4 separate regions of the Homo sapiens genome follow, and all the other regions are linked to region 1. The links are contacts of gene promoters, found by promoter capture Hi-C in blood cells and fetal thymus (Javierre and others, 2016). All regions are on one chromosome and are shown on one strand. The core of a region is centred on a gene start or on the middle of the fragment in contact, and the rest is flanking DNA. Distances in the headings are between cores, read along the strand shown.

Evidence for each region. Contacts are between HindIII fragments. The CHiCAGO score rates a contact against its expected background, and 5 or more counts as called.
Region 2: a contact is called between a fragment that was not itself captured here and the fragment with the promoter of SPATA13-AS1 in region 1, in 2 of 17 cell types (naive CD8 T cells and activated CD4 T cells). The highest score is 6.4, in naive CD8 T cells.
Region 3: a contact is called between a fragment that was not itself captured here and the fragment with the promoter of SPATA13-AS1 in region 1, in 2 of 17 cell types (activated CD4 T cells and total CD8 T cells). The highest score is 6.1, in activated CD4 T cells.
Region 4: a contact is called between a fragment that was not itself captured here and the fragment with the promoter of SPATA13-AS1 in region 1, in 1 of 17 cell types (naive CD8 T cells). The highest score is 6.1, in naive CD8 T cells.

The regions. Positions count from the first base shown.
Region 1 is chr13:24,253,081-24,260,958 of GRCh38, reverse strand. SPATA13-AS1 (SPATA13 antisense RNA 1) reads left to right here and starts at 6,520. Exons shown (of 3, transcript NR_046531.1): 1 at 6,520-6,623; 2 at 7,760-7,878. The region is part of intron 4 of SPATA13 (spermatogenesis associated 13); the gene reads right to left. The HindIII fragment of the contact is 5,552 bases long and covers 3,969-7,878 here.
Region 2 is chr13:23,974,612-23,981,720 of GRCh38, reverse strand. It overlaps a transcript of SPATA13 not described here. Among named protein-coding and RNA genes, the nearest start is that of C1QTNF9B, 81 kb to the right of the region's middle. The HindIII fragment of the contact is 2,603 bases long and covers 853-3,455 here.
Region 3 is chr13:23,956,020-23,963,400 of GRCh38, reverse strand. LOC105370115 (a long non-coding RNA gene) reads right to left here. Exons shown (of 5, transcript XR_941753.2): 2 at 6,041-6,104; 3 at 4,663-4,798. Among named protein-coding and RNA genes, the nearest start is that of C1QTNF9B, 62 kb to the right of the region's middle. The HindIII fragment of the contact is 2,526 bases long and covers 3,126-5,651 here.
Region 4 is chr13:24,710,698-24,717,656 of GRCh38, reverse strand. ATP12A (ATPase H+/K+ transporting non-gastric alpha2 subunit) reads right to left here. Exons shown (of 23, transcript NM_001676.7): 21 at 6,764-6,865; 22 at 6,248-6,339; 23 at 5,185-6,163. The coding sequence ends at 6,135. Among named protein-coding and RNA genes, the nearest start is that of ATP12A, 34 kb to the right of the region's middle. RefSeq lists enhancers at 1,111-1,755, 6,339-6,959. The HindIII fragment of the contact is 3,927 bases long and covers 919-4,845 here.

The DNA.
Region 1 (7,878 bases), core at 5,271-7,770:
CCCTAAGCCAAAAAAAAGTGCCCCATGCACGCATGCCATGAACATAACTTAAGGCATACATAGGTGCAATCATTCACCTTTGTCATGATGTAGGACAAGGCTCCCTGTGTACGATCAACTGACTAGAATTCTGCATTGTCTCTTGTACAATCCACACCCATATGCATCCGCTATGATTTCCAGTTCTGGCTTCTTTAACGTTGAGCAATAAAACCAGAGACACTGGCGAAACAATCTGAATATAGACTCCTCGATTTTTCCATTTTTTCCAAGCTGTCAATTCTCACCTAATTTGATAGAATTTTCTTTAACAATTCACTTTTATTGAGTTTCATTGGGTTTCTCCAAAGTATTCTATTTCATTGTCAGAGATGCCAAGTCCCCTTTCAGTCTCATATTCACATTTTATTTGCTTACATAATATCTAAATCAGTTCCATATCATCATAATAAAGCAACTGCCATAAACAGGCTTGGTGGGGTCATGCTCTTGACTCCCGGTGAGGATACAACTCTACTTGTGGGACCAGTGAAGAGGAGCCAGGAAGGCAAGCGCAGGCCACACTGTGGGATCTGCCAGCTCCTTACAGAGGCCTGGAGGACACTGTGACCTGACCAGTGTAATTTTCTCTTAGGCTACCCTACTCTCAACTTCTCAGATGTGCTCTCCTTTCTCTGGCCTCCACTTTTTGCCTGGAACACACTACCCCTAACAACAAACTTAATCTAACTCCCTTCATCCCTAAAGCCTCATTTGAGGTCATTTCCTCCATGAGGGCTTGGGACAGCCCAGATCCGACTGACATGCTCCCCGTTTCTACTCAGCGTGAGTGCAGTTGTGGTGGTTTTTCCCATTCATCCACCACACTGGCAGCTCTGTAGGAACACTCTCTAGCTTCCTCAGAACTGCCCAGCCTCTGGTACTGTGCCTCATTTATAATAGGGACATATGTATTTGTTAAATGGATCGAAATCAAGGAAGTATCTTCAAAACCAAAAGCACATTTAAAATCCAACTCAGGCCGGGTGTGGTGGCTCACACCTCTAATCCCAGTACTTTGTAAAGCCAAGGTGGGAGGCCAGGAGTTTGAGACCAGTCTGGGCAACAGAGTGAGACTCTGTCTCTAAAGAAAATCTAAAATAATAATAATAATACAATAAAATAAAATCCAATTCAGAAAGGTTTCGGAGCACCCTGGACATTTCCTGAGACAATACTGGTTGATTAAGCCCTGCTGGCCCCTCCTATAGCATTTCCCAATAATTTTAAGCTCATCAAAGTATCATAATGTTGAGCTGATGAGGTTTTACAACCAATACTAATCCCTAAATAGAGAAAAGTAAATAAATACATAAATAAGTAAATCTTTTCCATTTCTAAGGGGATGTATACATTCAGTACAAAATCAAACAGAAAAAACCAGAGCAGTAGACAGGGAAAGAATGTCACCCCCTGAATGATAATCCCCAATTGTACTTTGAAACCACTGAGCCTTAAACTCACTGGAAAATGTCTTGGTACGTTTTTGTTTTTTCTTTATTCAGACCAGCCTCAATCCTGTGCAGAAAACATCTACCAGAGTAAGAAAGCAAGTGAGGCTCTGGGGGCTGTTTTGGGGATGGCAGGTGGGGATGGCTCCACTTGGCGGCCACGTGGGTGGAAGCCCCTTGCTCTGCCCCCTCCCTGCAGACAGCAGCAGAAAGATGCACTGATCTGTTCACAAGAAGAGCCCCCATAAGACTCCCTAAGACCTTTGGGAGCTGTGGTCTTCCCCGTTCTCTTGGGCTTAGCAAGGAGGTAGCAGCATTCCTGCAGGGTCACTTGCACGTGCCTGTTGGGCCCCAGGGGTTCTTGGGAGGCCCAGCACCCAGCTCAGAGTGCACAAGGCCAGGCATGAGACGAGATGCTCACGGGCAGCCTGCAGATTCTTATCAAAACTACAGCTTACCCATATGGATGGTCCACCCCAAGGATGCTAACCTTGCTCCCCAGTGGCTAGCTAGGATATGCTCTCCTTTTATGAATTTCCTGCCCTGACAAAGCTCCTGACGTGGACCTGAGTAGTGGAAGAGCAGTAACCTTGATCGTACGGGGAAGAGGACCTGTTTCTGTGGTAGAAAGTGTTCTGTTTAGAACTCAGCATTTCTTTTAAAATAGTCCTTTGTTTGTTCTTGTGGTAAAAGGGGAAATGTAGCATGCTGGATTTATCACTAAGACATTTATTTTCAAAATTTAAGTATCTTATTCCTCACTCATATCTCTAACTTTTCAGTCTCTCTTTTTTTTTAGCGGAGAGGAGGTCTCACTCTGTTGCCCAGGCTGGGTGCAGTGGTGCGATCTTGGCCCGCTGCAACCTCTGCCTCCCAGGCTCAAGCAATCCTCCCATCTCAGCCTCCTGAGTAGCTGGTACTACAGGAACGCACGACAACTCTTGGCTAATTTTTTTGTATTTTTAGTAGAGATGGGGTTTTGCCATGTTGGCCAGGCTGGTCTCAAACTTGTGGGCTCAAGTGATCTGCCGACCTCAGCCTCCCAAAGTGCTGGGATTACAGACATGAGCCACCGTGCCTGGCCTTTTTTTTTTTTTTTTTTTTGAGATGAACTCTTCATTCTCATGGTAAACTCCGGTATAAACAAGGACCAATTTCACACATCTGTGACACTTTTTACTTGCTTTCTTATTGACAGGCAGAATCCAGAGTTCTTTTTATTTTTTTTTTTTTGAGATAGAGTTTCACTCTTGTTGCCCAGGCTGGAGTGCCATGGCGCAATGTAGGCTCACTGCAACCTCTATCTTCCGTGTTCAAGCAATTCTCCTGCCTCAGCCTCCCAGGTAGCTGGGATTACAGGCATGCGCCACCACACCCAGCTAATTTTGTATTTTTAGTAGAGAAAGAGATGAGGTTTCACCATGTTGGTTAGGCTAGTTTTGAACTCCTAACCTCAGGTGATCCACCACACCTGCCCAGAATCCAGAATTCTTATCGTTTCAGAGCACGTTTTCAAAAGCACTCCTCTCTTCACCACTCACTGGCCAGCTCAGATGGGCTTCTCAGACAGGCTGGTTGGCATAAAATTTGGGTCATGCTGTCCCCTTCACAGATCAAGATGTTATTTATTTATAACCTGCCTTTAAAGGACTCAATTTTTGGTTGTTTCCTAATGAAAAATGTGGATAGGTGGTTATGATTTAGTTTTACAACCTGCCTGCTAGCAATTCGTATTACTGTATCACTCTGATAAAGAATGAGTGACTCAGCCTAGCTCACTAGAGTGCTAGACTGGGTCAATTTGCTTCTCTTTTCTAGCTTGCAAAAAAAGAACTATATTTGCCAAAAAAAAAAAAAGTAAAAATTTAAAAAATCAAATTGAGCAATTACTTCAGTAAGTTAGAAACATTTTTTAAAGCAAGTCAACTTGCCAAGTTTGTGTCCCCTCAAAAAGGGCATTTTCTCTAGTTTTTATATCTAGCTATTATTGTACCTCATCTTGACTTTCCTCTTTTATTATCTGGCAGTATTACTAAATGCTCTAATACGGTGTACTTACTGGTTAACTAAAGGGCTTTCAAGAAATGTAACAGACCAGGTATCTTTTTTTGAAAGGGGTCTACCCATATCGACTGACTTTGGTGCACGGGTGTGCATTCGTCCTTTGCTTGTCTCTGTGAAGTTCCCACTCAAGTCTAACAGCGAAGTAAACTGGACACTCTCCTCTCTGGAAGATAAGAAAAGCAAGCTAATCTGAACTCTGGACAAGATACGTAGAAAGAGAAGGGGAATGGATAATAGAGACAAAGGGAAATTCAAAGTAAGAATTCTGAAAAGCACTCGAATTTGACTTCTGATCAACATAAACAGACCGGTTAAAGGAAGAAGTATGGTTGGAACCCAATGTTAAGTACAAAAAAATTAGGAGCTTAGGTAGGCTGTGATGGAGTAAGTTGTCTCAAATGAAAGAGAAAAGCTTCACTGAAAGCAAAGCAAAGGCGGCAAAGATAATTCCCCAGGAAAATCTTCTAGCAGTGTGGGCATCCTTCCTGAAACCCAAGGAAGGTGAAGCCACAAACACCATCCCCAACAATGCAGTGGTGTTTACAGGTTGTCACTCTTCCCTCCGATAAGGCTCCAATAAGTGCCACTGAAATTCATTATCCCAACTCTATTATCCCAAATAACACACCCAGTAGCCTACAAACATGACTCAGGCCTGTCCCACATGACCTGCCTTCGCAGGCTGTGTGGCTGGCAAGAGGTAAGACAGGTGCTACAAACAGGGCCAGAGAAAAGTGGTGAGAGAAAGGAAGAGCACAGCACGGCGCTGCCAAGTTCTCGGAAGGGAGGGCTCCATTCACCTAGAAAGACTCTGCCTTCATTTCTTTAAAAAAAAAAAAATTAAATGCAATGTTCAATTTTCTATATTTTGAGAAAAATTTAGTTGTGGATACTACTTAATTTGGAGAGTTTTTTATATTATTATTTTAAACTCACATAATAATTGTACAATATTTATGGGGTACAGTGTGATATTTCAATATATGTATACAATGTGGAATGAGCAAATCAGGGTAATTAGCATATCATCACCCCAAGCACTTATCATTTATTTGTATTAAGAACATTTGAATCCTCTCTTCTAGCTATTTTGAACTATACAATACATTGTCATTAACTGTGGCACAGTAGGACTTATTCTTCCTGTCTAGCTCTATTTTTATATCCATTTACCAACCTTTGGTTATCAAGATTTTGAGAATACTTGACCAGGGAGGAGAAATATACTTTCATTATTATTTAAAAGTTGATACTACAGAAAATTTCAAATACACACAAAAGCAGATAATACCATGAACCCACGATTATCAGTCTTTTGCCAATATTGTTTCAACTATTTCCCACCAACTTTTTTGGAGTATTTTAAAACAAATCTCACATATCATATTTTATGCAGAAAGTATTTCACTATCTGTGTATAACAAACAAGGACTTAAAAATAACTGCACTATCTTATCCCAACTAACAAAATTAAAAATAATTCCTTCATGTTGCCAAATATTCAGTTCATCTGAAAATCTCCCCAACGTGTCTCAAAATGATGCTTTTACAGCTGGTTTGCTGAGCTCAATTTGTGGGCTTACTGAGCTGGATGCCATTCTAGCACTTCGTTGGTATATAAACCTAAAACCCTCAGTGCATAGAAAGGAAGGAGTTCCAGGACTGGGATGGAAATGCTAGAGATGGTCTATCATGTGAGTCTCACCACCCCTTGGGCTGCATCTCCCATGTGACAGCAGCTTTTATAATTAATGTACTGCTAATCTCTCTAGGCCAGAGATGCTGCTGAGAGATGGTTCCACTGCAATGCAAACCTGGTCCTCCATGGGGGTGGGACATCTGTCATGGGAAAAAGGTGGGCATAGTTACTATACCACACAGCAGGGCCAGCTTGGTCATCTGAATGGTTTGACCTGTGAAATCTCTGGTTGTGCTGTTAACTGATCTCGGGGTCCCCAGGAACAAAACAGATGAGTGATTCCACAAAGGTACCACAACATTGTGTAGGAGGAACTCTCCAGGGCTGGCAAGCAGAGCCCGACCTGAGCCACCATGACAGAGAAGACAAGGGAGGGCCCTCACTCAACTCCCAGACTCAGGCCTCTTGATGGAGCAGAGCCAGGGAGCCTCAGGGTAGGCATCCTACTACAAGTCTTCTTCCTAGCTTCTCAAAGAGAACTCCTACCATCAGCCTGGTGACTGTGTCCTCAGGACAGGGAAACTCCCGGCGGCAAATGTAAGCAATACTCTTCCCAAGCCTTTCTGAGTAGGAGAGATGGCTTTGGCAAGGCAAGGATTTAGCTCGTGCGCACTCCTGGTTAGGAGCTAATGGCCTGGCTGAATGGCCTGGAGGAATGTGGAAAGAACAAGATGGGCTGAGGATGGGTTTGGGGAAGGAGTATAACTGGCTACCTCAGAATACCCGCAGAGCATGAGATGATGTCCATCCTACATGAATCCTTATTGCAAGAGAGGCTAATCAATCATCATGTGGACATGCTGTCCCAATGTGCAGCTAGATGCCAGTCTTCCTTCCTAGTCATCTTGATACTTGCTCAGTGGGTTCATAAAAAGGAAAAAAAAAAAGAAGCAAGCAAGAAAAAGGCCATGGTGGCAAAAATGGATGCCAAGCCTGGGCTAAACCACAGGAAGTCTGGGCCTTCCCCTCAACAAAGCTGATGATACGGTTCCCCGCAGGAACCAGACAGCCCCTTGCGGAAAGCTGATTGCAGTGGGGCCTTTTCATAATAGAGGGGGTGGTGATTTGTCCCTACTGGAAGGGCCACTTATGCTGGGCTTGGATTTGTTTTCCTGCACTCTGTGGATCCTCTAGAAGGCCCCTATCCTGTCGCAGCATCTCACACGCCATCCAGGCCCAGAACGTCACAGAGAAGGAAGCACATGACCCCATCACACCCAATAACAACCAAATAAAAATGAAGTTACAGAGGCAGCTGGGAGACACACCCAGAAGTTGCCATACTGCCCTGGATGGGACGCAAGCTCTGAAGCAGTGACTAATTTGGAGAGGCTGGCCCACAGCAGAAGATGCAGGGCCGGAAACCAAGGGTAAACATAGAAGCGGCTTCTTAGGATTACTTAATAATATACTTGCAAAATGTTTTCTTCCCACCTAGGAACTCTGCTCTGTTGAAACTGAATTTAGTGCCCAAGGGAGAAGTACTTCCTCCAGAGTTCACAGTCCTGGCCACAGTGAATCAGAACCAAGGCTGGCCATTTTTGCCTCTTCGTACCACTGGGAAAATGAGCACCCACGGAAAATGGGGATGGCTTTTGTGGTCACTGCTACCATATTTCTCAAATGGACTAATGCAATCGCCTTCAAATCAATCTCCATTCCTCTTCCTTTCCCCCCACAAACTGCCCTCCCTCTCTAAGCATAAACCGGAACATAATATGCTCCTGCTGCCAATGGCTTCACACCACACTTAGAACAAGCTCAGCCTCCTCATGACCTGCAGAGCCCTTTCCAGCCTCAGCCCACCTCCCAGCCTGCAACATCCTCGTCTGCCTCTTGCTCCCTGAGCTCCTGTCACTGTGGCCTCCTTGCTGAACCTCAGACACATCATGTTTCCTGCCTGTCTTTGGGCTTCTGGTGCTCCTTCGGCTAGGACTTCTCCTCCCTCGGATCTCTGCCTCACTGCCTCCTACTCACCTGTCCCCAGCGTCACCTCCTTGGAGAGGAGGCTATCTCCCCCACCTGCTCCTACTCCTCACATTACCCAAAGTCATCTTCTGCAGGGCCGTCACTGGTGCCTTGGTGCATCCTACATATTGACTTATGGAATCTGTTCAAATGCTGAAATGTAAACTTTGCATGACGTTTTATTCTCCACAGCATCCCAAATTCTCTATTTCCTTCCTTTCCCTGCCTTGCCATTCTGGTAGGGATGTGTTGCTTAAATCTGCCTCTAGTTAATCAACGCTGAAGAGGCACTGCATGGAACTGGAGGACTAGTTATCCTAAGAGGTCCTAGACTTGGAGGTGTCTGCTGCCACTGATGAGGATCTGGGTGTCTCCTTCTAGGGAAGAGAGAGAGGGTTCATGGAACAGGTGCATCCTGTTCATTAGAGTGTCATTAGAATAACACTCTTTGGAAATGAATGCTCTCTATCCTGTTTTATTTTTCTTTATAGTACTGTCTGCTCTGTTAAATACTTACTTGGCCTGTCTTCACATATAGAAGGCAAGGGTCCCTGGAGACAGACACCCCACCCTTCTTCCTGTTCCAGTACCACCAGGTGGTGGACATATCACCTAAGCTCGGACAGCTGAATCTTCCATCCTGGGACCTGAACCCCT
Region 2 (7,109 bases), core at 905-3,404, 270 kb after region 1:
GGCTTATCACCGCACTTCTCTGAGTGCTGGACTCCTTCTATTTTAAATGGGTCCAAAAATGCCTGCCTTGAAAGAGCAAAACCCACAACGCAAATGAAGTTCCAAGCTCAGCTGTGGTCTGTGTACCTGAGGCCCTGGCCAGTAGCAGGGGCTGTCCTGGTGGCATCTCACAATGAGAATGTACCACAGTGGTTTACAACTGCTTCCTAGCATTTCCGGCTCCCGAAACTGTGAATTTTTCTAATTCAGTTTTGTATGTTCTTCTCACCACTTATCTCTCTGCTCTCAAGTCTAGCACTGTACACAGCACATAGTAGAGCCTCAGTAAATGTTTGATGAATGAGTATCTGAGTAAACAAATAACATAATTTGTAAAATAGAAGTACTATTGTAGCTACAAAAAAACTGCTCTAAAAAAGATCATTCGAACCCCTTGACATTTTTTTTTTCCTATGGTATATGGCTAAAACAAGTAATCTTTGACATAGTAAGACAAAATCACCTAGCACATCTCCATGTATGAAAATACCCATAGAAATAAAATGAGGCTGATGCTCTCTAGTCCTTTGTGAAAGTCGCCATCTTTCCAACAGTAGAACTGTCTGCATTTTTAGTGCTGGGCCTAATATTTAGTACTGCTACCGGCTTTATATATTTTTCTTTTGCAAATGTTTTTGGTTAGTATGTTTGAAAAGCTGAGGAACAATTCGTTTCGTGGATCCAAATCTGGTTCTGTACTTTACTTTTTAAATGATAATTAAGGAACTCCCATCAGTAGATGCTACCTTAAAAACGAGGAAATACAACGTATTTTTTAAAAAACTTTGTTGGCCAGGCGCAGTGGCTCAAGCTTCTAATCCCAGCACTTAGGGAGGCCGAGGCGGGCGGATCACCTGAGGTCAGGAGTTTGAGACCAGCCTGGCCATTATGGTGAAACCCTTTCTCTATTAAAAATACAAAAATTAGCCTTGTGTAGCGACGGCCGCCTGTAATCCCAGCTACTCGGGAGGGTGAGGCAGGAGAATCGCTTGAACCCGGGAGGCAGAGGTTTCAGTGAGCTAAGATCCGCCACTGCCCTCCAACCTGGGCGACAAAGTAAGACTGTCTCAAAACGAACAAAACAAAACAAAACTTCGTTAAGTAGGAGTACTATTCTTGTTCATGTCTTCCATAACACCACAATCCAAATATTTTCAAAAGCAGAGCATTAAGGTATTAAGTAGGTGATAGTTTATTCCCTAACCAAGTGACAGAGGCTGCCAGCGGACTGTGGATTGACACCGACAGACACACACACCAACGAAGCATCAGAGTGGGGGCTCACGCAGTGACGCTGAGCACCGGGAGATTTCGGCCTCCCCCGCGGCTCCTCCGTCGCCCGGCAACACAGCCACGCTGCGGCTCGGCCCCTCCCCCGCTGCCATGGCAACGCGACCGCCAGGCTGGCTTTGTGCAACTACTGCCCCGGCGCCCCTATGCGCTCACCCCTTGAGCCTGCTGGGGCCGCGGCAACTTTTCTTTTCTTCTTTTTTTTTTGAGACGGAGTCTCGCTCTGTCGCCGAGGATGGAGTGGCGCGATCTCGGCTCACTGCAAGCTCGGCCATGACAACTTCTCTAACCTCACCGCACCTATAGCTCTATCCCTTCTCCTACCCGGAGCCGCTGATCATCAACTTTCACCCCCCACTTCAGGAAAAAAATGTTCCACGGGCACAGGATTTCGGCCAAATGCTGCTTGGCTCTACCTTCTCCAAAAGTGCGGGCGAGGTGACAATATGTAGAGAAATCCCACTTGCCTGTCTCAGCATCCCTCCTACGTCCTCAGAGGGTCCTTGGAGGGATCCCAGCATCCCGCTCCGAGCTGGAAGGGGGAGGAAGGTCACGGAGAAGCCGACTGGAAACTGTCCCGGGTGCGCGCCGCCCCCATGCCCTGCGCCCTCTTCATTTCCTCGGCCAGGGCGGGACCTCCCAGCCGCTGGGCCCAGGACCGCAGCGAATCAGTCTCTGGCTCCCCGCCCAGCAGAACTCAGACAGGCTCTGGACGGCTGTCCGAATGCCGCGTTTCCCTGGCGATGAGCAGTTCCGCATCACCCTCTGCGGCTAGCTCGGCTTCCAGGGCCGGGGCTGTGCTATTGTTTGCTGTTCTTCGTGGGTAGGACGGTGGGGGGCCCGGGCTGAGCCCGGAGCAGGAGGACCTGGGGTGAATTTCTTGCAGGCCTTTTCTCTCCCTTCTCCCAACCCCTTACTGTTGCATATTCATAAGAAGGCGGGGTCGTTTCCCATCTCCTTTAAAATTTCCCAGGCTTGAGGATCAGCGGAAAAGAATTGGGGTATAATTCTTTTCCCCTGACACAGACAAGCAAATACAGGATTCCTGTTCACAATTTCTTCCTCCACCCTCAGGCAGCAAGGACACACACACACACACACACACACTCACACACACACTTCTTAATTTCAAAGAGATCCTGACTGAAGTGGGAATCAAGTTTCCAACACGTGAACTTTAGCAGATACATTCAAACCATAGCAGGTGGTAAAATTATCATGACTGGAAGATGATATAATTATATCCCAAGATAATCAATTGTTAAACTATTAGATACAAAGGAAATTAGAAAGTAACAATATATAAAAGATCACTATGTGGGCTCAGTAGCAGAATGTAGGTGACAGAATTCATTGGTGAACTTGAAGATAGACCAATAGAAAGTATTCAATTGAAAAACAGAGGGCTGGCATGGTGCCTCATGCCTATAATCCCAGCATTTTGGGAGGCCAAGGTGAGGCCAGGAGTTCAAGAGCAGCTGGGAGACATAGCAAGACCGCCATCTCTACCAAAAAAAAAAATTTTTTTAATTAGTTGGGTGTGGTGCTGCATGCTTGTACTCCAGCTGCTCCAGTGGTTGAGGAGGGAAGATCGCTTGAGCCCAGGAGGTTGAGGTTGCAGCGAGCTGTGACTGTACCACTGCACTCCACAAAATGAGACCCTGTCTCAAAAACAAACAAAAAAAGACAAATAGAGAATGTTAGGAGACCTGTGAACAGCACTCCAGCCTGGGCAACAGAGAAACTCCATCCCTGAAAAAAAAGTAAATATAAATAGATGAAACAGTCGAACCAAAAGACAGAGATTAGCAGGTGGAATATATTAATAAAAACAAGAACGTATGTGCTGTCTACAAAAGATGCTATTTAAATGCAAAAGTACAAATGAGTCGAAAGTAAAAGAATGAAAAAACGCATACCATGGAAACATAAGAAAGCATCAGAAAGCTGAAGTAGCTGCATTACCACAAAGAGATTTTAAGAAAAAAGTGGTGCTAGAGATAAACAAGATCATCTCATAATGATATAAACCCAAAGTAAGTAGAAGGAAAGAAATAATAAAGGTAACAGTGGAAATCAATGAAACAGAAAACGGACACACTCAAAAGTCAATGGAATCAAAAGCTTGCTCTCTGAAAATTGATAAACTTTTAGCCAACCTGGTCAATTAAAAATCAATGGCCACAGGCCAGGTGCCCAGTAGCTCACGCTTGTAATCCCAGCACTTTGGGAGGCCGAGACAGGTGGATCACTTGAAGTTAGGAGTTTGAGACCAGCCTGACCAACATGGTAAACCCCATCTCTACTAAAAATACAAAAATTAGCCGGGTGTGGTGATGCGTGCCTGTAATCCCAGCTACTCCAGAGTCGGAGGCAGGAGGATTGCTTGAACCCAGGAGGTGAAGGGATGCAGTCAGCAGATACTGCACCACTGCACTCCAGCCTGGGTGACAGAGCTAGAACCTGTCTCAAAAAAATAAATAAATAAATAAAAAAGAAAAGAAAAAGAAAAAATTATCAATATCAGAAATGGGAGAGAATTATTGGTACAGTTCTTACAGTTATCAAAAGAAAAATAAGAAAAAAAATTGTGAGCAACACTATGCCAAAAAGTTCAATAATTTAGATAAAAAAGATTCTCTGAAAGACAGAAATTACAAAAACAGACTCACAAAAACCCAGAAGACCCAGATTGCCCTACAACAAATTACTATTACGATTCCTATGAAACAGTGTCTCACTTTTTTGCCCAGGCTGGACTTCAGTGGCCTGACCATGGCTCACAGCAGCCTGGACCTCTTGGGCTCAAGTGATCCTCCCACCTCAGCCTCCTCAGTAACTAGGACTACAGGCACACACCACCAAGCCTAGTTAATTAAAAAAAAAATTTTTTTTGTAGATACAAGGTCTCCTTACAGTGCTCAGACTGGTCTTGAATTCCAGGGCTTAAGCAATCCTCCCACCTTAACCTCCCAAAGTGCTGAGCTTACAGGTATGAGCCACTGTGCCCAGACTATTAGTAAAAATTATTTTTTAAATAAAAACTTTTCGACAGAGAAAACTCCAGACTCTGATGACTTCATGGTGAATTTTATGAAATATTTAAGTTTTTTGAAACATTTAAGTTTTAACATGTTAAGTGAAAAAATTATGTTTTAACACATAACCATCTCTCCCAAACTATGTCAGGTAAAAGAAGAGGGAATACTGCTCTACTCATTTTATAAGGCCTGCAATACCTTGGTTTAATACTTGACAGAGACATACTAAGAAAACTATAGACTAATATCCTTCATGAAAATAAATGCAAAAATTTTAAACAAAATATTAAGAAATTGAATCTAGCAATTTTTTTTAAAAAAGTACCATGATCAACTGGTGTTTCTCCAACAAATGCAATGTTGCTTTGATATGAAAAGCAAATAATATAATTCACCATTTTAATAGAATATAGGAGAAAAATCATGTGATCATTTCAACAGATGCAGGAAAAAACTATTTGACAAAGTTCAACACCAATTCATGATAAAACTCTTGGCAAACTCAGAATAGGATGAAATTTCCTCAACCTAAAAAAGGGCATCTGTAAAAAACTTAGAGCTAACATCATATTTAATTGTGAAAAACTAAGTGCTTTCTACCTTAGAACAGAAACAAGACAGAAATATCCACTCTTACAAAGATAGTTCAAAAAGACAAGAAAAAAAAAACACAGTTTGTAAAGGAAGAAGTAAAACTGTCTTATTTACATAGTCAACATAATTATGTATATAAACAATCCTAAAGGAATATACAAAATCTCCTAGACCAAGTGATTACAGCAAGATCACAGGATAAGAGATCAATATGCAATAATCACATTTTATTTCTGTATATCAGTAGCAAGCAATTGAAAATGACATTTAAAAAAGAAATACGGTATGTTCTCACTCATAAGTGGGAGATAAGCTATGAGGATACAAAGCCATAAGAATGATACGGTGGACTTTGGGGGCTTGTGGGGAAAGGGTGGGAGGGGGATAAAGGTTAAAAGACTACAAATTGGGTACGGTGTATACTGCTCAGATTGATGGATGCACCAGAATCTCAGATACCACCACTGAAGAACTTATTCATGTAACCAAACACAACCTGTTCCCCAAAAACTTATGGAAATAAAATAGAAAAAAAACAAATACGTTCAAAATAACAAACATATTCAGGAATAAATTTAACCAAAGATGTGGAAGATCTATACACTGATAAAGAAATTTTAAAAGACCTAAGTACATGGAGACATAGGTCATATTTATGAACTGGAAGACTCAATAATGTTAAGATATTAATTTTTCCTGAATCTATGATAGAGTTGATGCAATTTTAATAAATATCATAGCAAGCACATTGTTTTAGAAATTGACAAGTAACTGGGGCCGGGAGTGGTGGCTTATGCCTGTAATCCCAGCACTTTGGGAGGCCGAGGCTGGCAGATCACCTGAGGTCAGGAGTTTGAGACCATCCTGGCCAACATGATGAATCCCCATCTCTACTAAAAATACACAAATTAGCCAGGTGTGGTGGCAGGTGCCTGTAATCTGTTACTTGGGAGGCTGAGACAGGAGAATCACTTGAACCCGGAAGGTAGAGGTTGCGGTGAGCCGAGATTGCGTCACTGCACTCCAGCCTGGGCAACAAAGAGCAAAACTCCATCTGAAAAAAAAGAAAGAAAGAAATTGACAAGTAATTCTAAACTTGATATGAAAATAAAAAGGACTCACAACAGCTCAACAATTTTAGAAAGAGAAGGTTGGAGGACTTAAACTACCTGATACGAAGACTGACTATAATACTTCAGTTATCAAGAGTGTGTGGTATGGGGATAAGGAAAGGCACAACAATCAGTGGGACAGAGTCCAGTCCAGAAGTAGACCCACATACGCATAGTCAACTCATGTTTATTAAAGCACCAAATTTTCATTCAGTGAATGAAAGGCTAGTGTTTTCAACAAACAGCACTAGAATAGTTTCTATATGGGAGGAAAAAGGGTCTGGACCCTTATCTTTTATTGTATAACAAAATTAACTCAGAATGGGTCATAGACCTAAATTTAAGAACTAAAATCTTAAAACTTAAGTCAGAAAAAAATAGAAGGATATATTTGTGATATTAGGTTAGGAGAAAGTTTCTTATTAAGACATAAAGGCATGAAACAAAAAAATTAATAAATTAAATTTCATTAAAATGAAAACCTTTTGCTCTTCAAAAAACCCTCTTCAGAAAATAAAACGGGAAAAAAGTTTGCAAAACATGTTTCCAACAAAGGCCTGTGTCTTGCATATATAAAGAACTATTACAGGCCGGGCGCGGTGGCTCATGCCTGTAATCCCAGCACTTTGGGAGGCCGAGACAGGCAGATCATGAGGTCAGGAGATCCAGACCATCCTGGCTAACACGGTGAAACCCCATCTCTACTAAAAATACAAAAAATCAGCCGGCCTGGTGGCGGGCGCCCGTAGTCCCAGCTACTCGGAAGGCTGAGGCAGGAGAATGGCGTGAACCAGGAGACGGAGCTTGCAGTGAGCTGAGACTGTACCACTGCACTCCAGCCTGGGAAAAAGAGCGAGACTCCGTCTCAAAAAAAAAACAAACTATTACAATTTACCAATAAGAAGACAACTCCATCAAAAATGGACAAAAGATTTAAACAGGCCCTTCATAAGAGAATATACATAAATAGCCAGTAACTTTTTTTCTTTTTAATTTTTTAAAGAATAGAGATGAGGTCTCTCTATGTTCCCCA
Region 3 (7,381 bases), core at 3,139-5,638, 300 kb after region 1:
CAGGTGGATCACCTGAGGTCAGGAGTTCAAGGCCAGCCTGGCCACTATGGTGAAATCCCATTCTACTAAAACTACAAACATTAGCCGGGCGTGGTGGTAGGTGTTCCTGTAGTCCCAGCTACTCAGAAGGCTGAGGCAAGAGAATTGCTTGAACCCAGGAGGTGGAGGCTGCAGTTAGCTGAGATCATACCATTGCAATCCACACTGGGCAACAGAGCAAGACTCTGTCTCAAATAATAAAATAAAATGAAAATAAAATCAATCAATGTAATTCATCATATTAATAAAAGAGAAGAACCATATGATCTTCTAGGTAATACTGAAAAAGTAATTTATATAATTTGAGATCTGGTCATAAATAAGCAAAAACTCAGTACACTGGGAATAAATGAAGCATATTTACAAAAAAAACTAGAAAATCATCATGTTGTTTAATGGTGAAATATTGAATGATTTCCCTGTCAATTAGGAATAAGAAAAGGAAATCCACGATCACCTTTTTCTCTTCTTTTTTTTAAACAGGGTCTTGCTCTGATGCCCTGGCTAGAATGCAGTGGTGTGATCACAACTCACTGCAACCTCCACCTCCCGGAGGTAACAGCTTGCAAACATTCACGAAATAACAAAAGACTAGATATAAAAATTCTCCTTTGGGATGTTTAAAAATCCCCAAATTGATCCCATGAGTATATTTACTCTCATTACAAATATATTTATCTATAACTGATCCTTAAAATTACAAATAAGCACCAAACAGATTTGTTGCTTTTCTGCCTTTTAAAGTGTGTAGAGCAGCAAGCTTTCCTGAGAGCACGAGGCAGCCTTTAATTGAAGGTGCTAGGTTCAAGGCACCATCTACTATCATTTGGGATCACAGGAACATGGGTATACAAATGGCACCAAGGTCCAGAAAACGTGCCTGGGTCCAAAAAAAGGGGAGGCTCTTTGCAAGTCAAAGATAAAAGAAAAAGTAGCATCATCTCCGACAGCTGACCCCGAGTATCCAGCTACAGCATCACAACAACTTGTGAGATTAGTTCCTAAAAGAGACGTAGACTTGTCCCAATACAGTCTGTTAAAGTTCTTACTAACTAGAGAAGCCACAAGTAACAGTAAACTGATATTTTATTAAAGTGACTGCTATATGGAAGTAAATATCTAAATGTTTTAACATGTTTTACCTGTCATGTAAATTAATTTTCACAAGCCCGATTCAATTAGCTCATCATAATTCCTAGGTTTATTTACCCCAGTTCAGCTCATCTTGACTTAGATTCTTGGACCATTCTTCCGAACTATTTATTTCATTATAAAGTTCCTTTTAAACAATTGTAAACTATTCATAATAATAAAGAATTATCTTGCACCAGGAGGTTGAGGCTGCAGTGAGCTACTATGATTGTGCCACTGCACTCCAGCCTGGGTGACAGAGAGTAACACTATCTCAAACCTTTTTTTAAAAAAAGTGATTAACTCACAACTGAGAAAATAAAAGGAAAATGTCATTATTGTGTTAGAATAGAGAGTAAGAATATAGACACCTATTCTTCCATATAGACCAGACAGCTCAATACCATTTCACTCAAAGAAGAAAAAAAGGGGGGGAAATGGTAGGTGTGGAGGCACAGAGGGCAGAGTATTAAAGCCTTTTACTGAAATGACTCCAAAGTTCAGTGTGGAAGTAAAGTTTCTACATTTAAAAACTTTACATAAATTATATGAATTACAATTTTCATAAAAGTCAAAATGAAAGGTTCTGCATAGGATGAAAGATATGCCTAAGCAACATTTCATATTTGTACAAGGCCATTGAATGCCACAGATACTAGTAACACATACAAAGCTTAAGTCTATGGGACACTGAACAAAGATTTCAGTCTGGTATTCTGTAAGTCCAAGATTGTAAACTACTCTTATTCTACAAAAGCTGTAATGATGTAATAGAATTTTTATTTTTTAAGAATTGAGACGAGGCTGGGTGCAGTGGCTCATGTCTGTAATCCCAGCACTTTAGGAGGCAGACGTGGGTGGATCATCTGAGGTTAGGAGTTCGAGACCAGCCTGACCAACATGGGGAAACCCCATCTCTACTAAAAATACAAAAATTAGCCAGGCGTGGTGGTGTGTGCCTGTAATTCCAGCTACAAGGAAGGCTGAAGCAGGAGAATTGCTTGAACCCAGGAGGTGGAGGCTGCAGTGAGCTGAGACCACGCCTCCGCAACAGAGCAAGACTCTGTCTCAAGAAAATAAAAAAAAAAGCAAAAACCTTTTATAACCCTTTTGAATTTAGTCAACGTTCACACACAGATTTTCTTTTGCAAGATTAATTTTTTAGAAATCTTCCATAACTTGTTTAAACCATTTTATCTAGTTCAAAGCAATCTAACTCCAGGAAAAAAGAATTTACATTTTGATGACATTTGCATTTTACCAATAATCTTTGTTTTTATTTCTCAAAGATTAAAGTCACATGAACCAAAAGGTACCATAGCTTTTTTTCCCCTTTAAAAATATTTGATGCTAGTGATTACCCTTCTTAGGGTCAACTAATTGGAGCTTTTCATAGACATCACACACACAACACATGTATAACTACACAGAAGATCCAGTAGCTATAGGATTTTTCATTTGCCAATCTCCCAATTGGATTACTGGCCCCTAGGTGGAGCCCTTTAAGAGCAAGACTAGGAAAGCATGCAGTTTCTAGGGACCTAATAAACAGGTATAGCTGGAAGACAAAAACAGATTTTTGAGAGGGATTTATCCTCCTCTAATTCCTGGGCCTCCATGAGGAAAACAGAGGTCTCTCCCACAGTGGAATCAATGGCAACTTTTCTGTTTTTTTCCAAGGAGTCCCAGGCCATGAGAAATTATCTTAGGGCCTCTCATACGTGCATTAAAAGTGGCAAGGCAAAATGGAGAAAAATAATTCAGTTGATTGAGGAAAAACCTTTCTCCAGCAAAACAAGATCCAGGAAGAGAAAAACATAAAGGCCTTTTAAACATACCTGTAACTTGGATATTCCCTTTTAATTAAGCTGAGCACTCTTTAAGAAAAGCCTTTTAAATTCCTTATTACCTGACTTTAGTCACGCCACGTGGCCAATATTTCTGACTTTCAAGCTTTACCAAAAGTAACCTCCTAGATGTTCAGAGCAAGGAAAATTCAAGGTGATTTGTGGAGGGGAAGAGAATCAACAAATGGCAAAGGTCAAGCAGATATCAAACCAGAAAGGACTCATTCCCTAAGTCAGGACTGCACCCAGGCCACCACTGTAAAATGGCAGAGGCTAAAACAGAACATTGCCACCTGGTTACAGGTCACACTCCCAAGGAGGTTGGTTAAACAAGGTGGAGGGCTGCAGCAAAGGTTTGCCATTGCCCAGTTTGCCAGGCTGGCTTCAATAGCAGGCCTATGGAGTCCTGGGCCTACATCACATCCTAAGATGCCCCTCTTCCCTGATAGAACCATACATACAAAAGTCTTTCAAAGCACACCAGATTGGCTATGGCTTGACCAACTTCACAAATCCTTTTTCATAATTAAAACTTTACTGAGAATATAAACAGTGATAGTTGTCACCCTGGCCTGGTTAAACATCTTTTCTCCACACCGTCAGCAGTTAACACAGCCCTGCATTTTAAGCTGTTTGGAAACTATCAAGAGGAGACTCAGCTACCAAGCCAGGAGATAAGGCTCTGTTGTGCAGAGCTTCTTGTGAAAATGTAACAACCACTAGCAAGTTTTCCTAACTACCGAGATAGGCAGGCCTATCCCTTAAAGGAGTAAAACATATTTTACTTCTAAAGAGCTCTTGGCCTGAGCAAATCTAAGGAACACCTACTACATGCCTCATGTTTCCCATGACTTCTAGAGTTTACAAGGACAGCTTCAAGACCAAACCACCTGATGACATTAGTGTTTATGCTTTTTAAAAAACCTGAATTTAAAGGAAAACAGACCAAAAAGAATGCAATGGGCTACCTAGGCCAAGTCTATTTTCTCATTAACAGGATGATTCATCTTCAGAGCTCTTACATTTCACCAAACCCTAGTCTAAGAAAACCCTGAGTGAAACTAGCCAACATTTAGTTAAGACAGTCTGATTATCCTTATTTGCATGACAGCAGCTCATATGAAGAGACAAATGTTCCTGAGATTATTACAAATAATCGCCCTTCAAATACATGCTATAAAAAATGGTATTAACATTTGCTGAGTGACTGTGCCCCATGCATCATTCTGGTACTTTCATACATAATCCTCAGTTTAACGGAATTTTATAAAAATGATTTAAAAGTCACTTTACCTCTCAAATCAACAAATTTGCATTCATTAAACAGATAAGTAAAACGTAATTCATATGTATGTATTCTATTTTTTTCTTAACATTGTTTTGAGCTTTCTCTCTCCAAAACTACCATAAGGGCATCAAAACTCAACATCAAGAGTTCTATCCTTCTGATTTTCCCACTGAAGGATGACAGAAAAAGCTCCATAGCTGTCATCTAAAATCTATTAGTAAGTACTTTGGCTGAACCTTGAAACTAAGATGTCACGTATCAATTACACAGGAATGAGCTGACATTTGCTTCCTGCCAGGAGCAATGCACAGATTCAGAGAATGGTTTCTCTGAATATATAGAAAATAAAACATTTACCTTTGCAGGGATCCGGGACTTCTGAAGCTAGTATTAAAAGCTGTATGTTAAAAATGAGGACTTAGATTTCAGGGAGTCTGTGGAAGTTCTAGGCTTCTTCAGTGTGGGGTCTCATTAGCCAGTCTGTGTGAATGTGCTGAAACAAAGAAAGGATGCTTTCCCTTACTTCTAGCAGAGTTTGACAGAAGTAATGAAGGAGGTGGTGATAAATCATTAATTCTCTCCTAATACCTTCAGAAAAAGACTGAAATGCTAATACTAAAAGGGCCCTTATTTGCCATGTCTCTCCAGCCCTTATTTTAAAAACAAGGAAGCTGAGGAAAGGCAGACTGTGACGTTAGTGAGAGCTTCCAGACCCTTTGTCATCCTTTCCCTTCCTGTATGCCATTTCAGATATGCTGTCCACCTGGAGAAGATTTGCTTGGTGGGACTGGGGCTTGGGTTCTCTGCAGCTGAGTCAAAGCAAATGTAAATACGACGCGTCTTACATATTTGACCCACACCAGCACACAACAGAGAATTACTGAGAGTAAGAGTGTTTCCCACTCTCAGAGAGCAGCTGATCCTTTCCACCATGGCCTCCAAGGAATTCTAGGTAATCCAGATGAACTGGCATTCATCCCAAGTGCAATTTCCATCACTCAGGACAATCTGCTAACAAAAATGCCCTGTGCTTCAGAATTAGCTTCGGCCTTTGCCAGCTAAGAACAGCCAGCCACAGACTGGCTTACTTTGAAAAATATAACTTAGCTATGATACAGACACTCTAATATAACAGTGGTCTACAGTCTTAACATAAAATAAAATTAAGTTGAAAGAACTTTCCTACTATGTGAGATCTGTGATCCATATTTAAATATGAGAGGTTTATAGCATACATACACATATATACACACACGTATATATCTTATTCTTAAATTAGAAAAAATATACTAAACTATAGGTACATTTCCACATATAGTATAATAAGAACATTTATTTAATAAGCTTTTCATTTGTTTTTGTATAGTAATTAGGTTGATTCATCCATCTTTCTATATTAACAAGAAGAGCATATGCAATCCCCCTGAACAACATTTCTCCAGGAATAAAATTAATTATTAAACTGTCATGAAAACAACGAAGTTATGGAAGGCAGGGTTCCGGAGACTGATGTGTGAGCAGGAGGGGCTGAAGGAGAGGCAGTGAGTCTAAATAACAATGTCAGGAGGCTTATCTCTAAAGTGAAGGGGACGAATCAGAAGCCCCGACAGAACAGGATGGCCCATGTCCAGCCCTGCGGTGAGCACACATTGTGGAGATCCATCCACATCAGGCTCAATGCGAACATTAATCATCTATGCGCCTAGATCATACAAATGTTTGATTTCTCATTTACCTTTCTGTAAAGGCTCCTTTGAGTTTATCCAGGCAGACAGATTTTAAAGACAGTTTCTCTTCTGCTGTACAAATGGGTAAAGAGAGACAACAGCTTTGGCACGACTCAAGGGCTTTTAAAAATAAATTTTCAGCTGGGCATGGTGGCTCACGCCTGTAATTGCAGCACTTTGGGAGGCGAAGGCGGGCAGGTCACGAGGTCAAGAGATTTAGACCATCTTGGCCAACATGGTGAAACCCCGTTTCTACTAAAAATCCAAAATTTAGCTGGGCGTGACGGCATGCACCATAGTCCTAGCTACTCGGGAGGCTGAGGTAGGAGTACCGCTTGAACCTGGGAGGTGGAGGTTGCAGTGAGCCAAGATCACGTCACTGCACTCCAGCCTGGTGACAGAGCAAGATTCCATCGTCAAAAAATAAAATAAAATAAATTAGTAAATCTAACTTTCATCAGTGATTCTACATTGTTTGTTCTGTTTCTCTAGCATTAGCTACAAGCCATTTTCCATTCTAAGAACACATTTAGCCTATGAGAGAGAACAGCTTTTTTCTTACATACTTGTATGTTCAATTTTGTACTTTCTCCAATTCACTCTTCCTTAATATTCTTGATTGGACATGTGCACTTCTTCAGCCTTCTATAAAAATGAGAAGTGGGCATATGGATGAATTACTAATACAGCAAGCACATGTTGCATTTTTATGCCAACACCACCACCAATAGCTTGCCACAACCAGCTGGAAATCCTCATTTAAGTCCTCTAGGTGTTAGAGCACTTGGGTCACTGTTTTAAAGTGCACACGGGGATAATCTCCTAACTCAAAAATTCTTTAAATTCTTAAAAAGTTAAAACTTTTAACATAAAAAGAGCTTCTAGGTATCTAGAAAAACAGCTAAGTGAGTGACAATGCCAAGAGCCTCCTCCTCACTAAATGCCCTTCCTTAAAGAGCAATGAAAAACGTTTAACAGCAAAAATGCCAGCAAGGAACATTAAATCTGATGTGATACAATGCAGGGTGTGCCTTTTGGCATGTACGGTCAGACACCACAGCAACAAACTCCAAACCACGCAAGGCTGAGTCAGATCACAGGTCACACCTCTGCATGCTGATTTTCCCTAGTTCCACCTGAGAGAAGCAGTTGAGAATACAGGGCAAAGTACTTTATTTCTAAGCCTTAGCCTCCCTGTCTGTAAATTATAATCAGACCAACTTCACAGGGTTTTTATGAGCGTCAAATACAATGATGCAGATAGTTTCACTCCAATGGCTTGCACAAATAATGGTGATGGTATTATTATGCTTTTCCCCATGCGTCTACCCAAAAACTTTCCCCACCGT
Region 4 (6,959 bases), core at 1,633-4,132, 460 kb before region 1:
TGTGACCAACCTGGGCACATCTTTGGCCCCTGCCCTTTCCTCTGCTTCACCTCTGCAATTGGAACCCTACTCCTCAAGGCTGAGTTGGATGCCTTGCCTCCTGGCACCCTCCACTGTTGCCCACCAAAGATGGTCTCCCTGGAAACCCACAGCACTGTATACCTCTCAAGGCCTCGGCCAAATCCTGCCCCGATTGACAGTTTATTTGCAAACATGCCTGGTCTTCCCTATTGCGTCATTTTGTCCTCTCAGACCAGCACAGCATTGTTCTGCACTGTGCTGTGTACCTAGCAGGTGCTAAATTTGAAACAACGAAAGTGGTTGGGTGTGGTGGTTCACACCTGTAGTCCCAGCACTTTGGGAGGCCAAGGTGGGTGGATCACTTGAGCCCAGGGGTTCAAGACCAGCCTGGGCAGTATAGCCAAACCCCCTTTTTTACAAAAAATACAAAAATTAGCTGGGCGTGATGGAGTGCACCTGTAGTCCCAGCTACTCAAGAGGCTGAGGCTTGAGCCCGGGAGGCAGAGGTTGCAGCTGAGATCACACCATTGCACTCACTCTAGCACCCCAGCCTGGATGACTGAGTGAGACCCTGTCTCAAAAAAAAAAAAAAAGAAAAGAAAAGAAAAGAAAAAAGATTGAAAGCAGAGGCGGCGGGTGCGGGTGGAGTGGAAGAAATCCCTTTGTGTAAATAGAAAATGTAAAAAAAAAAAAAAAAATTAGAAAAAAAGAAATCCCCCAAACTACAAATAAACTCTTGCATTGAAGTGCTTCACTCCACCGAATCTCTATCTACCTGCACAGCAAGTCTGAGGAGGGCAGCTTCTATCCCTTTAAAATTAATCAGGCTTTTACCTTAAATTTCCAGTTAACTTTATCTTAGAACCTCTGGACCAAGAAGATAAAATCCCCCAAGCTTGGTTCTGGTATGTCAGAGGGGAGGGTGGGAAAGTAGGAATGGGGACGGGGAAGAAGGAGCTTGCTGAGAGAACTGGTCTGAAGCAGAAAAAAACGGCATCCCTGCCCAATAGCAGAATGGCCCTGGAGCGTGCGGGGGTTCAGGATCTCGGACGGGCTGGGTGCCTAGCTCCACGGAGGGGCTGAGAAGGACCCTAAATGAGGAGGGAATTGTGTTCTTCTTCCTCTGTTCATGGTGTAAGGATAATTTTTTCATACAGATATAACAGTGAACACATATTAAAGATTTTTTTTTAAAGCTCACCACTTAAATAGGAAACTAGGCAGTTGTTAAAATCTACTGAGAGGAGCAAAGAGGCACGCTTTTATCTGGAATCAGGAATGTTGGCTGATTGTGCAAAGGGAGCAAAACTGGCTTTTCCAAGGAGGAAAGATCTTCACCCACTGGGTAGGATTCATTTGCATATCTATAGAAATACTTTCTGTTGCTCTCAGTTATCAGTAACCTGCAGAGCTGTAAGACAGAACTCAACACCTGCAGGCTATGCTCTAGAGGCATCTATATTCCATCGAAGGGCAAACTCTCCCTAAACCACTTGCCAGATTCTACAGTGGAGCCTCTTAGTGGTCAGGAGAGGTCACAGTGCCAGGAAGTCACTGGGCCTCTAGGCTTAACTTCCTGAGTGTAAAGCACGGCTGATGCCACAGCTGACGGGGCCGTTGTGAGCGTTAATAAGATCATGCTGTTAGGAACCCAGAACATAATAGATACTTAACAAATATCAGTGATTGCCGCTGTCTTTTTTTTTTTTTTTTTTTTTTTTCAGATGGAGTCTTGCTCTTTCACCCAGGCTGGAGTGCAGTGGCGTGATCTCGGCTCACTGCAACCTCCGCCTCCTGGGTTCATGCCATTCTCCTGCCTCAGCCTCCTGAGTAGCTGGGACTACAGGTGTCCGCCACCGCGCCCGGCTAATTTTTTGTATTTTTAGTAGTTACAGGGTATCATTGTGTTAGCTGGGATGGTCTCGATCTCCTGACCTTGTGATCCGACCGCCTCGGCCTCCCAGTGTTGGGATTACAGGCGTGAGTCACCACGCCCAGCCAGCCACTGTCTTTTTAAGAGACATTAGATGCCACCAGTGGAATGATGATAGCAGAATGAACAAATGTGGAGAACTCATGATCTTTGTAGAGTCAGATGCACCTGTCCAGGCTCTTAAGGAGTGCAGCCGTGTACATTGAGACATATATCTTGTTCTAGACTCCTGGCGAGATGACACCTGCTTGAGCATCTCCTGTCTCTATCTTGATTGTGATGTGGGCAGTCAGGGTGGTTGTGAGCCTTTCTAGGAGCCTGAGTTGAACATTTATGTCTCGAGTCACCTAGAGGCAACCCCCCTTAAGAAACTCCTCCATTGAGTCTGTGTATTCCATTGAAGGTACACACACCAGTTACCACAGCCTGGTCTGCCTCCCATCCTCTACACAGAAGCCAAAGTGATCTGAACATGTCAACTGGATCAGGTCACCTCTTTTATTAATTGTCTTCAATAGCTTGTTTATTCGTTTTTGTAGAGATGGGGTCTCCCTACGTTGCCCAGGCTGGTCTCAAACTCCTGGTCTCAAGTGATTCTCCTGCCTCAGCCTCCCAAAGTGCTGAGATTAAAGGTGTGAGCCACTGCACTGGGCCTAATAGCTTGTTTTGAAATTAAATGCAACCTCCTTCATTTGGTCTCTGAACCCCTCTAGGGTGAGATTCTTGCCTGTCCCTCCAGTTCCCCGTTCCAAGGTCTTCCCTGGCTGTGTGTTCCTGCTAGGCCCCTCTGACCTCTCAGAGCTTTTGCTCATGCTGTTCCCTCTTCCTGTCATTCTGTCTGCTTCTTTGCATTCATCTCCTCAAAAAGGACTTTGCTAGGCCGGGCATGGTGGCTCACGCCTATAATCTCAGCACTTTGAGAGGCCGAGGTAGATGGATCACCTGAGGTCAGGAGTTCAAGAGCAGCCTGGCTAACATGGTGAAACCCCATCTCTACTAAAAATACAAAAATTAGCCCAGCGTGGTGGTGGGTGCCTGTAGTCCCAGCTACTGGGGAGGCCGAGGCTGGAGAATCACTTGAATCCAGGAGGCGGAGGTTGCAGTGAGCTGAGATTGTGCCACTGCACTCCAGCCTGGGCGAGAGTGTGAGACTTCGTCTCAACAACAACAACAAAAAGGACTTTTCTGACTACCCTATTTAAAAGGACTTAGCTGACTGCCCTCAATCCTGCCACCTGATTATCTAAGCCCCATTATGCCTTTTCAAGACCTTATCACAATTTGTATTTTCCTTTCACCCCTCTACTGGTGTACTGGCTCCATGCTCTATCTTGTTCTGGGCTGTGTTCTCAAGCCATGCAGGAGCACTTCCTACATCTTTGTCGAATTATGGAAAGCTCTTTGGTTGACTGAGCATTCACATCTTAATGATAGGCAAGATAAATATTCTTTTTCTATTGCTGGTGGGGGTGTAAACTGATACAGCTTATCTAAAGATAAATTAGGCAATGTGTGGCCAGAGCCTTAGGAATGCTCTGAATGCCTTGATTCCAATTTGAGGAATCTTCTATAAAATGGAGATGTGTGGTACAATATTGAGGATAAGATGCAGCCTTTTTGAGAAAGATGCCTAGTAGGAAATTAATGAGCTATCTCACCGTGCAGATATAGTTAGCGAAAGCACTCTCAATCTACAATACTGTGCAGTCATTAACACCATGTTTTTGATGTTAAATAAAAAAGGCAGAATTGAAAACTTTATTTAATTTTACCTAAAAATAAATATATGTGTGGAAAAACTCCAAAGAAATGATTACTCTTTCATTTAGGTATATGACTACATAGTGAGATTCAGGGTGATTTTAATTTACTTTTTAATCTCATTTATTCTAAATTTTCTATTTAAGAAAATAGCTCATTTAGAGCTGCAATTTTATAATCAGAATAAATTAGATTGTTTTAAAAAGCAAAGACTCTAGGAATTCAGCCTCATGTTTATGTCTCTGAGATACTCTACCACATCAATTAGATTTAAATTGACATTTTTTTTTCCTATAATAAAAGACATCTAGGCTTCAGAGGGTCAATTAAATAGTCCCTCCAAAAACACCCTCTGAAATGGATTTTATTGCCTTTTTCTGTCTACAACTTAATAAAGCTACTCAATAATGCTAGTGTCTTTTCTGGGATTTCTTAAGTTAGTTATTTGTTAATTTTATAAATATTTGAGTGTCAACTTTTTGCAAGAGTAAATAAGCACAAATAGGAACGTTATTTCATACATAGTTCCTGCTATGAAGAGGCTTCTAATTCCAAGTTAACTCCTTTCAACCCTAATCCAACCCCAAGTTAAACCTTGCAGCTTTGTGCTAAATTGATGGCCTTGTCCTGCTGGCATTGGCAGGACCAAGAGCTGCCAAGCATTGCAGCCATGAGCACTCAGGCAGCCTGTCAAGAAAGATTAAGTAAGGTCAAGTTATTCTTAGCTGAAGTCTAGAAAGCATTAGCTGCCTTGTCGAGACTGGAACGAGAAAGCCATGACCACACTGCCCAAACCACTCTGGGAAGTGTTTGCAGTTCACTGGAACTACTGATAGATTAGTCCAATGATAATTGTGGCTGAACACAGATTACAAATCTCCTGAGGACAGCAACATTATTTTAGCTTACATGGCTGCACACAATATGCACTGGAATCTATATACATAAAGTTACAAGGATAGTCTCCTTCCCTCTTTCCTGCTCCTACATGTGACCCCAAGAGCATGGTGACTCTAAGGCTGCCTTTTCCTGTCCAGGAGATGCCAACCTAGAGCCATCAGCCCCAGATGCCCCCGAGTGAGACTGTAATGGAGAGAGGTGACGGGGCAGGCCACTAGATGAGGAAAGCTTAACCAAACATAATTCTCACGTTCTGTCAAATGAGTTAGTGCGAGGTGTGCAGTTGATGGAAAGGCTGTAGAACCCTTCTCTCGAGTGCTGCTGCAGAAAGACGGGCCCTCCCACAGGCGTCCGACCAAGAATCGAGGGCACATCAGAGGCCCTGGCTGGAGCCCTGGGGTCATGAGGAAGAGTTTGAAAGAAAAATCCTACATTTCCAGATCTTCCACAGATAAGTAAAATGACCAGAAGGAGCAACGAAAAGAAAATAGGAAATCATATCTTATTTTTTTGTCCCATGCTCTTCATTCTAGAAAAATGTGAACCAATTAGAACACCACAATTAAACCTGGGTTTATAAAACATCTTTTAGTTAAAAATGAGGCCTTTCCGGGCCTGTCAACATGGAAGTGTCACACATGAATACACCTAAGTTAAAACATGAAACATGACTGACAAAACGTTATTGCTGGAGAGCACCTGGCAACTGTTTTACAAGAAATAAATATGACTATTGAAACCATAACAGCTCTCTACTAGGGTTGAATCCTGGTAAAGAAAGTCCCCTTGGATTAGCTGAGCATTTTGAGTTAGGATATGCAAAATGAACTGGGAGCTCAGTTTTGGAGGAGCTGATGTAGGGGTGGAGGGCGACGGGGCATAAAGGGCTGGGGAGATGACCAGAGGTGGGATGGGGTGGCGTGGCCAGGGAAACTGTGGCAAGGGCCTTCAAGAAGGACGTCTCAGAGTTAAACGAGTCAAAGCTGAGGTCATGCGTGCTGCTGTGATGTAAACCTGCCGCCACTTCCATCTCCTGCAGACCCTCGGGTGAGTTGGCCTTTTTCGAGCAAGGAGACCATGAAAACATACCTTCTCAGGGGATCTGCAGAAATCTTAGGGAGGTCATGGGGCCTTTAATAGGGTGTGGAAAGGAGTTCTGAGCAATCCTAGCTAGAGCTTAAGGCAGGCCCCAGTAGATGCCTGGGTTACACAAGACTATTAACATCAAGGAGTTTCAAATACACATAAACACATTCTTCCCTATACCATTACCTCGAAATGTACGTATTTTTTAATGAGGAGATGGAGATAGAAAAGAAAATCCTATATAAAGAGTTGAATTTCAGTTTTAAAGTGCAAAACATCAGTGAGCATCCTGCATACAGCTTTCTGCATGAAAATTTCCTCTTGTCTGAATTTTGACGATGTCTGCACTGCAGGGGAATAGCCCAGCAAACGGTCAGAAGATGAACAAGTGTGCCCCAACGTGCTGCTGAGAGACATAGGAAGGGAGGTGGTCTTAATAATACATGTTCTTATCCCACCAGCCTGTAGAGGTAGAAAAAAGTACATCAGAAATGGAGAGTCTGTTGAAGTGGGTAAACAGAGCCTCTAAAATCATAGGCTACTCACTTCCAGGGTAGAGCCTGATGAAGAGCTTCCGCACCTCATCATACACCCAGATCAGGATGGCGTGCGGCACAGCCACAAACCAGTACTGAGCCCTGGAAGCAAAGGGATGGAAAGTGAACCCTGACTCATCCACAGGGATAGCCCAACCCTGCCCAATGGGAATGGGGCTTCTCGTTCATTTGTCTTGCTTTACTGCAAAGAACGACAAATCCACGAGGTCCCACAAAATAAAGGTGGAAAGCTCCTTGTTTAACCTGCACTGTGACTGCTAGAAGCAATGTCTGCCTTTGAAGCAACCTGTTGGATGAGGATGAAGGCCGGTTGGTGAGGTCTAGAAAACCCATTTCCACTTCTGGAAAATGCAGATCAAAGCTTTGGGCTCACAGAGCATGGGATCAGTTTGACGTCTTTTGAAAGACTTGGGGAAGAACCCTGGGAATCCTCAGGTTTATTTAGGCTGCGACAGCTCAAAGCAGAGGCTGGCTCTTTCCTCCATGCTGTTGAGGGTGAACTCACCTAAGCATGGTGAAACTCAAGGCTGTGACACTTCCGAGGCCATAGGAGAGGATCAGACCAATGATGATCTGTGAGGTGATCCCCACCCAGATGACTTTATTTCTGCAAGACACACAAAAGCAGACAGACTTGGGATTCTTGTGGCTTCATGATCATACACCCAGCAGACCATGCCACCAGAAAAATCAATGCCTCT